Regions from separate parts of the Homo sapiens genome. Here region 2 is linked to region 1. Evidence: promoter capture Hi-C in human tissues and cell types (Jung and others, 2019). All regions are on one chromosome and are shown on one strand. Each heading gives the region's core, a stretch centred on a gene start or on the middle of the fragment in contact. The rest is flanking DNA. Distances are from core to core; before and after follow the strand shown.

Evidence for each region. The method cuts DNA at HindIII sites, captures the fragments that hold promoters and counts their contacts. A contact is called where the count stands out against the background at its distance.
Region 2: a contact is called between a fragment that was not itself captured here and the fragment with the promoter of FIP1L1 in region 1, in 1 of the 25 tissues and cell types used here (IMR-90 fibroblasts).

What each region holds. Positions count from the first base shown.
Region 1 is chr4:53,374,517-53,378,947 of GRCh38, reverse strand. It overlaps FIP1L1 (factor interacting with PAPOLA and CPSF1), which reads right to left and starts at 1,307. Exons shown (of 18, transcript NM_030917.4): 1 at 1,025-1,307. The coding sequence starts at 1,109. LOC105377654 (a long non-coding RNA gene) reads left to right here and starts at 1,208. Exons shown (of 3, transcript XR_007058118.1): 1 at 1,208-1,289; 2 at 3,218-3,351; 3 at 4,351-4,431. RefSeq lists a silencer at 730-819 and enhancers at 492-1,040, 980-1,099, 1,150-1,239, 1,041-1,589. The HindIII fragment of the contact is 6,649 bases long and covers 1-4,431 here.
Region 2 is chr4:54,234,314-54,238,451 of GRCh38, reverse strand. The region is part of intron 1 of PDGFRA (platelet derived growth factor receptor alpha); the gene reads right to left. Among named protein-coding and RNA genes, the nearest start is that of PDGFRA, 7.1 kb to the right of the region's middle. RefSeq lists a silencer at 3,920-4,027 and an enhancer at 4,092-4,138. The HindIII fragment of the contact is 8,516 bases long and covers 1-4,138 here.

The DNA of each region.
Region 1 (4,431 bases), core at 58-2,557:
AGATCTTTGTAAAAGAAATCCTACACATTCACATTTCAAAGAGTAGTAACTAATGCTAAATCTTGCCACCAAACGATTTTTTTTTACAAGTTTATCAAAGTCACATCATCAAGGACCTGCATGGTGCCCAAAGTGCACTTTTACTATTCTATTCTAAAGACAATCAAGAATATATGTTTTAGGCAAGGAACAAACATTAACTTTCAAATCTGGTGTTAACAAGCAAGAAGGGATTGTGACTTAAAGTTAAAAACCAGATGTCAAACAAGTACCCTTCTAGAGAGAAGTACATGATGCATTAAATTTATTTTGAGAAAAACAAATACATGAGATGACACTGAAAACTATAAGCCGAAGGGTCATGAGATACCTCCATGATGTAGGTTAAACGGTAGTCTCTTAAAAAAGAATAACTTCACCTTAATACAGGAGACATTCAGAGTTTTCTTTATGGGCCATCTTTCTCTCTCTCTCTCTTAATTAATTATTTTTAAAGCACGACTTTCAGACAAGGAGGTACCCTTGCAGGTGCATTCCATACAAACTGACCATCAAGAAACAAGACGTTAGTTGTACAGCATTAACTTTATTTAGCTATTATTACAGAATGACTGTTTCTGAAAGAAGGGACAGGAAGGGCACCCTAAGGCCACAGGGCAAAAACAGACACCAAAAACCACCACCTCAGAATCGACAGAAAAAAACAAGGGTAAAGAGCGCAGCAGCTAGGCGATCGAGACGCCTCGGGGAAAGCACAGCGAAGCCGGGGGCCAGGACCGGTCACAGCCCCCCAGCCCGGCCCGGCCGCCACAGGGGTGGATGCGCATGGTGGGCGTGGGCCAGGCGGGAGACCGCCGCGGGGACTGGGGGCACGCGCACGCCGCGCTCGGCCTAAGTCAGGCCGGACAGGACTCCCAACCAGAGGCCCGAAGCGGCGGCGCGAGAGGCCAGGGACGCCGGCCGTTTGAGGGCCAAGAGGGGAGGCCTGAGAGAACCCGAGAGACAGAGACAGGAAGTTTCGTACCGCCATAGAGCCACTCTTCCTCCTCATCCCCTCCGGTCCCGCCGCTCAGCTCCGACACTAGGCGCTCGACCTCGCCGGCCGACATGGCCGCCCCGAGCGCAACTTAAACGCGGCGATCAACAGCCCCCTCCAACCCCTTCCCCAGCCTCGCAGCCCCGAGGCGCGAGAAGGGCGCGAACCCGCCGACGAACGAACGAAGAAAGCTCGAGACTCCAATCCCAGGAAGGCGACGGCAGCGGCGGCAAAGATGAAGCCTCCAGCGCAGGTCCGTCTGCGCATGCGCAGGAGACCCAAGCGGCGCGGCGCGTATAGGTGGCTTCGCTTCCGCGGCGGCCACCTGGGCCTGGTTGCGCCTGCGCGCTGAGGTGGGCCCCGCCCCTCTAGGATCCCGGTTTGCTATTTTGCGTGGCTTCCTCCCGTGGCGTCCTGAGTCGGCCAGGGTTCCCCGCCCCCACCCTTCTTTTTAATAACCCGTATTGCCATTGCTGGCGAGTACACCATTGTTCCCTTCTACTCTTCGTGCTCTTTCTTCTCAACTTTTTATTTGTTTTTTAATCTTCAGAAAGGCCTTCTTTTATTCTTTAATCAGCCTTGATACAGAATCATTACCTGTCACTCCCTTTCCTCACTGAATAGAGAAGAAATCACAATCAGTACTATTTCTCAAAAAATTAATTTTCACAGCCAACAAAAGCAAAACTAATAGATGAAGAATGCACTCTCCTTGTTAAAAACCATAAATTACTGTCAAGGTCAAAGACCGCCTCATTCCCCTACCCTTCTCTCCGGAGGTAGCCCTTGCTACAGATGCATATCCTGTTTGGAGTTCATCATTCCGAAATTTCCTATACACTTACTTCATGTGTTGTGCTGTTTTGGTGGGAGAACCTGAGATTGACAAGTCTTAAATAGTACAGTACAGTATAGTATCATCCTTCGACTTCCTTTTTTTTCTTTTTTTTTAGCATCCGTGTCTTGGAGCTCTTTTTCATTTTAGTATGAATCAAACTATATCTATTTTAAGTGCTTCATAAAATTGCATAGTATGGCTATCACAGAGTGAATATGGCTATTTCTCCATTGATGTACACCCAGATTGCTTTTGACTTTACACTTTTAACTACAACAAAAAATGACAATGAAGATCCACACGGCTCCTTGCAGATTTGTCTGTTTCTCAAAGATAGATCATAAAGTATGTACAGTTTTTATTTTAATAGGTAAACCAAATGTTCAGGCCGCTTCTGAAAGCACATCTTCCAGTGAAAAGATGACATACCATGGTTCAAACTGGAGCTCTAGGTTTGTCTAGGTTTTTTGTTTGTTTGTTTATTTATTTGAGGCGGAGTCTCACTCTGTTGCCCAGCTGGAGTACAGTGGTGCGATCTCTGCTCACTGCAACCTCCACCTCCTGGGCTCAAGCGATTCTTCTGCCTCAGCCTCCCAAGTAGCTGGGATTACAGGCACGCACCACCATGCCCAGCCAATTTTTGTATTTATAGTAGAGAGGGGGTTTCACCATTTTGGCCAGGCTGGTTTTGAACTCCTGACCTCAGGTGATCTGCCCACCTTGGTGTCCCAAAGTGCTGGGCTTACAGGCATGAGCCACCACGCCCGGCCTGTTTTTTTGTTTTGTTTTGTTTTGTTTTGTTTTGTTTTGTTTTGTTTAAAAAACAGTCTTACTCTGTAACCCAGGCTGAAATGCAGTGGCAGGGTCACTGTTCACTGCAGTCTCTACCTCCCAGACTCAAACAGTCCTCCCACTTCAGCCTCCTGAGTACCTGGGACTACAGACAAGCAGGTGCCACCACACCTGGCTAATTTTTTATTTTTTGTAGAGACAATGTCTCACCATGTTGCCTAGGCTGGTCTGGAACTCGTGGTCTCTAGCAATCCTTCCACCTAGGCCTCCTAAAGTGCTGGGATTACATGTATGAGCCACCAGGCCTGGCCTCAGTTCTTCATTATACCTAGCAGGTTGTATAGTCAGGCAATCAACCTTTCTATGCTTCAGTTTTCTCATCTATAAAATGGAAAGGCCAAGTTAGATGATCTCTGAGGTCTCTTTCATTTATAAAGTTTACAAACAGGGCATTCGCTTGTCAACAGAGAGAAATCCATTTTGATTGAACAACTAAATGAGTTTTCTTGCTCCTTGATGAATAAATATTGTTTTATCATTTATTTATTTAGCAATTACAGAATATCTGCTCTGTTTAAGAACTTGGAAAATGAAGACATGAGTGAAACAGTCCCACCCCTTAAAGAACTCTGAAGTTATTGAGAAAGACAGAGGGGCAGTAAACAACTCTCCTACAAGAGAAGAGGTGAATGTGTTGTAATAGAAGCACAAATGAAGGGTTTACGCCCAACCAATATCTCACATTATTTAAACAAACCATGTGGTTTTAATCTTTCTTACCTTTGAACACACTTCTGCCAGCTATTCCCAGCTCCCTTATCTTTTTATGATAATCTCTTGCATCCTTCTAAACTCTCTGGGGGTATAATCACCTTTGTGAAATCTTTCCTGAATCCCATTTTATCTCTTCCCATTTGTTTTGCCAGGAACTCTTCCAGCTATGTAGATTCAACAGTGAATAAAACAAAGTTCTTTCTTTTGTGGAGCTTTGATTCTAATAAGAGAGTCAGATAATAAACATATGAACGTATGATATGTCATGATGACAAGAATTGTGAAAAGAGTAAGCAATATAAAATGAAGTGATGGGGTGCAATTTTATATGGAGTGGTCAGGGAAAGCTACTCTGATGAAGTGATACAAGAGACTTGAATGGAGACAGGAGGTGAGCCCCGTGGATTTCGGGGTGACAGACTATCAAACAGAGGAATAAGAAGTGCAAAGGCCCTGAGGTAGAAGCATACTTGGCATGTTCAAGAAACTCAAAATGTAGCTAAAGTATAGTGAGTGAGAGAGAATGCAGATGAGGTCAGATGTATTTGGGGGGTGAGTGGGACAGAGCAACTCACTCCTTCTAGACACCATGCTGCTTCTATGCCATGTGCCTATCACACTGTATAGTAATTATTTGACTATATTTCTGTTTGCCTCAGGCTCTTCGCTAGACCAAGTCCACCTCCAAACAGGGCATCCCATAGCCATCACTTCAATTCCTAGTATAGTGCTTAACGCTGAGTAAATCTTCTTGGTCACTGTTGAAAGTAATAGAATGAAGTCTTATAGACTGTTTATGAGTATCGTAAGGCAATCACTCACAGTCCTGTCTATTGATCGTTCTATTTATTTAATTGGTTTCATGAGAAAACCAATTGCCTTTTGTTAAGGGATCTTTTTCTGTTTTCAGCTGCCTTTCAAGGCATTGCTTAAACATAACTGAAGAAATGATGAACAATACTAGAATAGCTTTTGTGGTGGAGGTAGCATT
Region 2 (4,138 bases), core at 14-2,513, 860 kb before region 1:
GCTTTGGAAGCTAAAATATGTGTGCATGTGATTCCTGAGTAAACTGGTTTAAAAAAAAGAAAGAGTGAGAGAGAAATTCAATGTATTCATATATTGCTGTGTTTAGCCCTAGTTGGGTTTGGTTTGGTTGGAGGGGATCCAGGATCCAGAAGATAATAGCCTAATCAAAGTTTTTGGTGGGGCCTAATCATGTATTTCTACCGTAAGGTGGCCTACTTTGCAGAAATCAGATTTCTGTTTTATTGAATGCTACCAGGAAAATGGGAGAGGAAGAGAACACAGAGAAAAAGGTGGAAGGCTCCTCACAGGAAGGGGAGTGGGGTATGTAGAAAACAAAGTAAGAGAAGGAGAAACCATTATTTACTAAGCCAAAGTTTGCATGTGCATGCTGTGTTTGTGAAGAATAACCCTGTGATTACTTAGAGCTGATTTTAAGAAGTGGCAGTTGAGGCTCAGAGAGGTTTTGCAAATGACCCAAAGTCACACAGCCAGTGACAGAGCCAGGATTTGAACACAAGGTCGTGTGATACAAACGCCATGCCCTCTCCACTTCACCATATGGTCTCTCTCAAGGGAAGGTCAGTGTTTTAGCCATATCCCACCCCTGTGTGCCACCTACTTGCCTGACTATTTCCTAGGGCAAATTATACCTCCTCCTTCCATTTTCCTCCTTTGCTCACCACAGCAGGAGAAACACAATTACAGTGCTGTGAACCCAAATGCAATTCACACAATGCTGGCTGGCTGATGGCCTCCGAGGATCCTGACATGTGCCTGGGATGCAAGGCTTCCACACTGCTGCGGTGGCAGGCACAGTGGGCCCCAGAGCCAGGCTGGCCAGCCTGATTTACCACAATTAGCAGTAATGCTTGTGTGTTTGTACATATAAATATCAGCCTCCCACTGACAATCCACTCAGCAAACTTCAAACAAGGCCTCCAGAGCCAGCTTGATGTCTTTGGTTTTATCACATTTAGAACCCATATTTCTTTGGCAAGACTTGCCAAAGATGCATCTTTAAAGCTTTCTCCAGCTTAAAAGAAGGGCTCACTGCTTTTCCTGTGCAAGCTCTAAGCAGTGCTTTGCCCTGGCCAGACACTCCCAGATTTCCTTCAGTGCCTCCAGATACAGTGGACCCTCTGCCAGGAAAGATTATTTACTGACATATAAAGTGGCCAATGAGGCCGGGCGTGGTGGCTCACATCTGTAATCCCAACACTTTGGAAGGCTGAGGTGGGCAGATCACTTGAGGTCAGGAGTTCAAGACCATCCTGGCCGACATGATGAAACCCCATCTCTACTAAAAATACAAAAAATTAGCCAGGCATGGCGGCAGGTACCTATAATCCCAGCTACTCGGGAGGCTGAGGCAGGAGAATGGCTTCAACCCAGTAGGCAGAGGTTGCAGTGAGCCAGGATCTCGCCACTGCACTCCAGCCTGGGTGACAGAGCAAGATTCTGTCTCAAAAAAAAAGTGGGCAATGGAAACAGGTCCTCTGAGCAAGCCATCAGGAAGGAAGAGAATAAACATGTGTTTGTTGCTTAAGATTCCAAACCCCAATCTCTGATAACAGTGGTTCCCTGGGTAGAAATCAGGCCTGTTTGTGAACTTTCTTTTTTTCTTTTTTCTTTCTTTCTTTTTCTTTTTTTAGATGGAGTCTTGCACTGCCGCCTGGGCTGGAGTGCAGTGGCATGATCTCAGCTCATTGCAACCTCTGCCTCCCAAGTTCAAGCGATTCTCCTGTCTCAGCCTCCCGAGTAGCTGGTATTACAGGTGCCCACCATCATGGCCAGCTAATTTCTTGTATTTTTAGTACAGACAGGGTTTCACCATGTTGGTCAGGCTGATCTCGAACTCCTGACCTCGTGATTCACCCACGTCGGCTTCCCAAAGTGCTGGGATTACAGGCGTGAGCCACTGTGCTCAGCGTGTTTGTGAAGTTTCATGTCATTACTTATCTATAACTCAGACAGTTTACTCATGAATAATGGCAGTGCTTGCCCCACAGGGAGGTAATGAAGAAAAATGGGAAACATGGGGAATTTCCTCACCTATTAGACCTGTAGTGAGGCTCTCTGGGAGTGAGTCTTGCTGTTCCTGCCACTTTTATCTACTCTAAATGCTCATCCTTAATTAGTAACTGCTATTCTGGAGCTCATCTAAAGTCAGGTGTGCAAATATAAGTAACTGAAACTACAAATTCTGAGAAACATGGCACCATAAGAATCCGTGAGAACAACCCCCTTTGCAGGGAAGAACACTAGATTTCACCCAAATCTTTTCTTCAATCATAATTACTTCCCTCATGCCAACTACATGTTGAACTTCAGCCCCCATTCTCAATAATCACAGCTCAAAAAACATTTGCCATAACTTAGAGGAACAAACTGAGAAAGAGACCCCCCGCCCTGTTGACTCTCAGGCAGGTGACTTGTGCTTTTCCACCATCCTCTTGGCCTTCTTATGCTTTCTCTCAGAAGAAAGGATGGAAATCACATTGGACTAGCCACTGATCCCAAATCTGATACTCTATCCAACTCTCTGAACCTCAGTCTTTTCTTCTAGGAAGCACGACTACCAAGGCCTGACTGGTTGCTTGCCCTGTGGCATTCTTGTAAGGACTAAATTATATAGTTTAATTGAAAGTGCTTTGATTTTCACGACTTTTTCTGCAGACTCCCAAGATATTTTAGATCGGCTCCTTCAACTTCTCCTTAACTAAGAAAGTGAGGGATGCCCCAGAAGCCACATGACTTGCCCTGCACCTCCTACCTCCTGGAGACATGGATCTGAACTCTGATTCAGCCCACACCAGCAGTCCACTCCCATGACCCTGTTACCTCCAGCCTGGTGTGGCTATAAAGACCATTCAAAGATGAGCCAATATATACAGTCACAGAAACAGAGAAACAAATGACTTTGCAGCTACTATCCTTTCTCTTTAACAGGGTGCCATCTCCTGCCCTGCAAACAGAAGTAAAGAGCCATTGGACATGACTCTATAACCAAAGGCAATGTGCAAAGGTAGTGTAAACAGACAGTAGGCAATGCAAGGCTCTATTTCCAGAAGGACTAACAGCAAGACATTCTTCTCCTAAAGCCAGAGAGTTGGCTTCTCAATCACCAATTGCACAGTGCATCCCATTGCAGAACCACTGAATATTGAATTTCACCCCACCCTCACATGATTAAAGACCACAGGAGACTCTCTCACAGCCCCAAAAGCCACTGGTGACTTCAAGATTCAGATTTCCGAGGCTCAGTTAATTTCAGCTCTCCTAAGTTAATTCTAACTGTGAAAATTACACATTTTCCTTTTTCTACGCAGTCTCCTAACTTCAGCCCAGGCAAACCAAGTGCAGGTCTACACTGGTGGAAACTTCTCCCTGTTTTCCAGCAGAGGGTGTGTTTACCAGGACCTCTGCACCCTACCAGAGCCTGTTTTGTTGTTTTGATCTCCCGGAGCTCCATCAGACATTCCAGTAATGGGAGGGGGCTGGAGTGTTTTTAAACAGGAGCCTTTTATGGGACAATCTGGGCTCATAAACATGCCTGCTCTCCTCTCACCATATATTTAACCACGGGAGAATAAAATGACATATCCTTTTGAATATCACCAAACGGGTGTGACTCCTAATGGCACAACCTTAGGAGTAGCAGTAGCAGTTTGAGCATTCGGCTTGAGGTCACCAAGGCCCCGACATAGGTCTCCTCACTCAGAAACGGGAACATCAATGCCCCCCCACTACCCTCCTCACAGGCCAGCTCTGATAATAAGATGTTCACTATGTAAATGCAAAGCATTAACAACCAAGGAGAAACACAACACAAATTTCCACGAAATAAAAATGTTGTCTTCCAGCAATTCTTGTAGCCTCACAGCAAAAGAAAATCAGTCACCTATTACGGTCCTACTGAGCAAAAAATAAATAAAAAATAAAAAATAAAGCACCTTCCTAATGGTCTCCGCGAAGCCCATTCTCACAGCGGGTCGCAGTAGTTCTTACGAGTGGCCAGCAGATGGCAGTGTTGGTCCAAGGACGTGCGTCCACGGGTTGCGACACAGACGCCGCTGCGAGGAATTCTGAGCTCCACTACCCCAAATGTTAATTTCCAGTCTCTTCCTTCCTTAGGTTG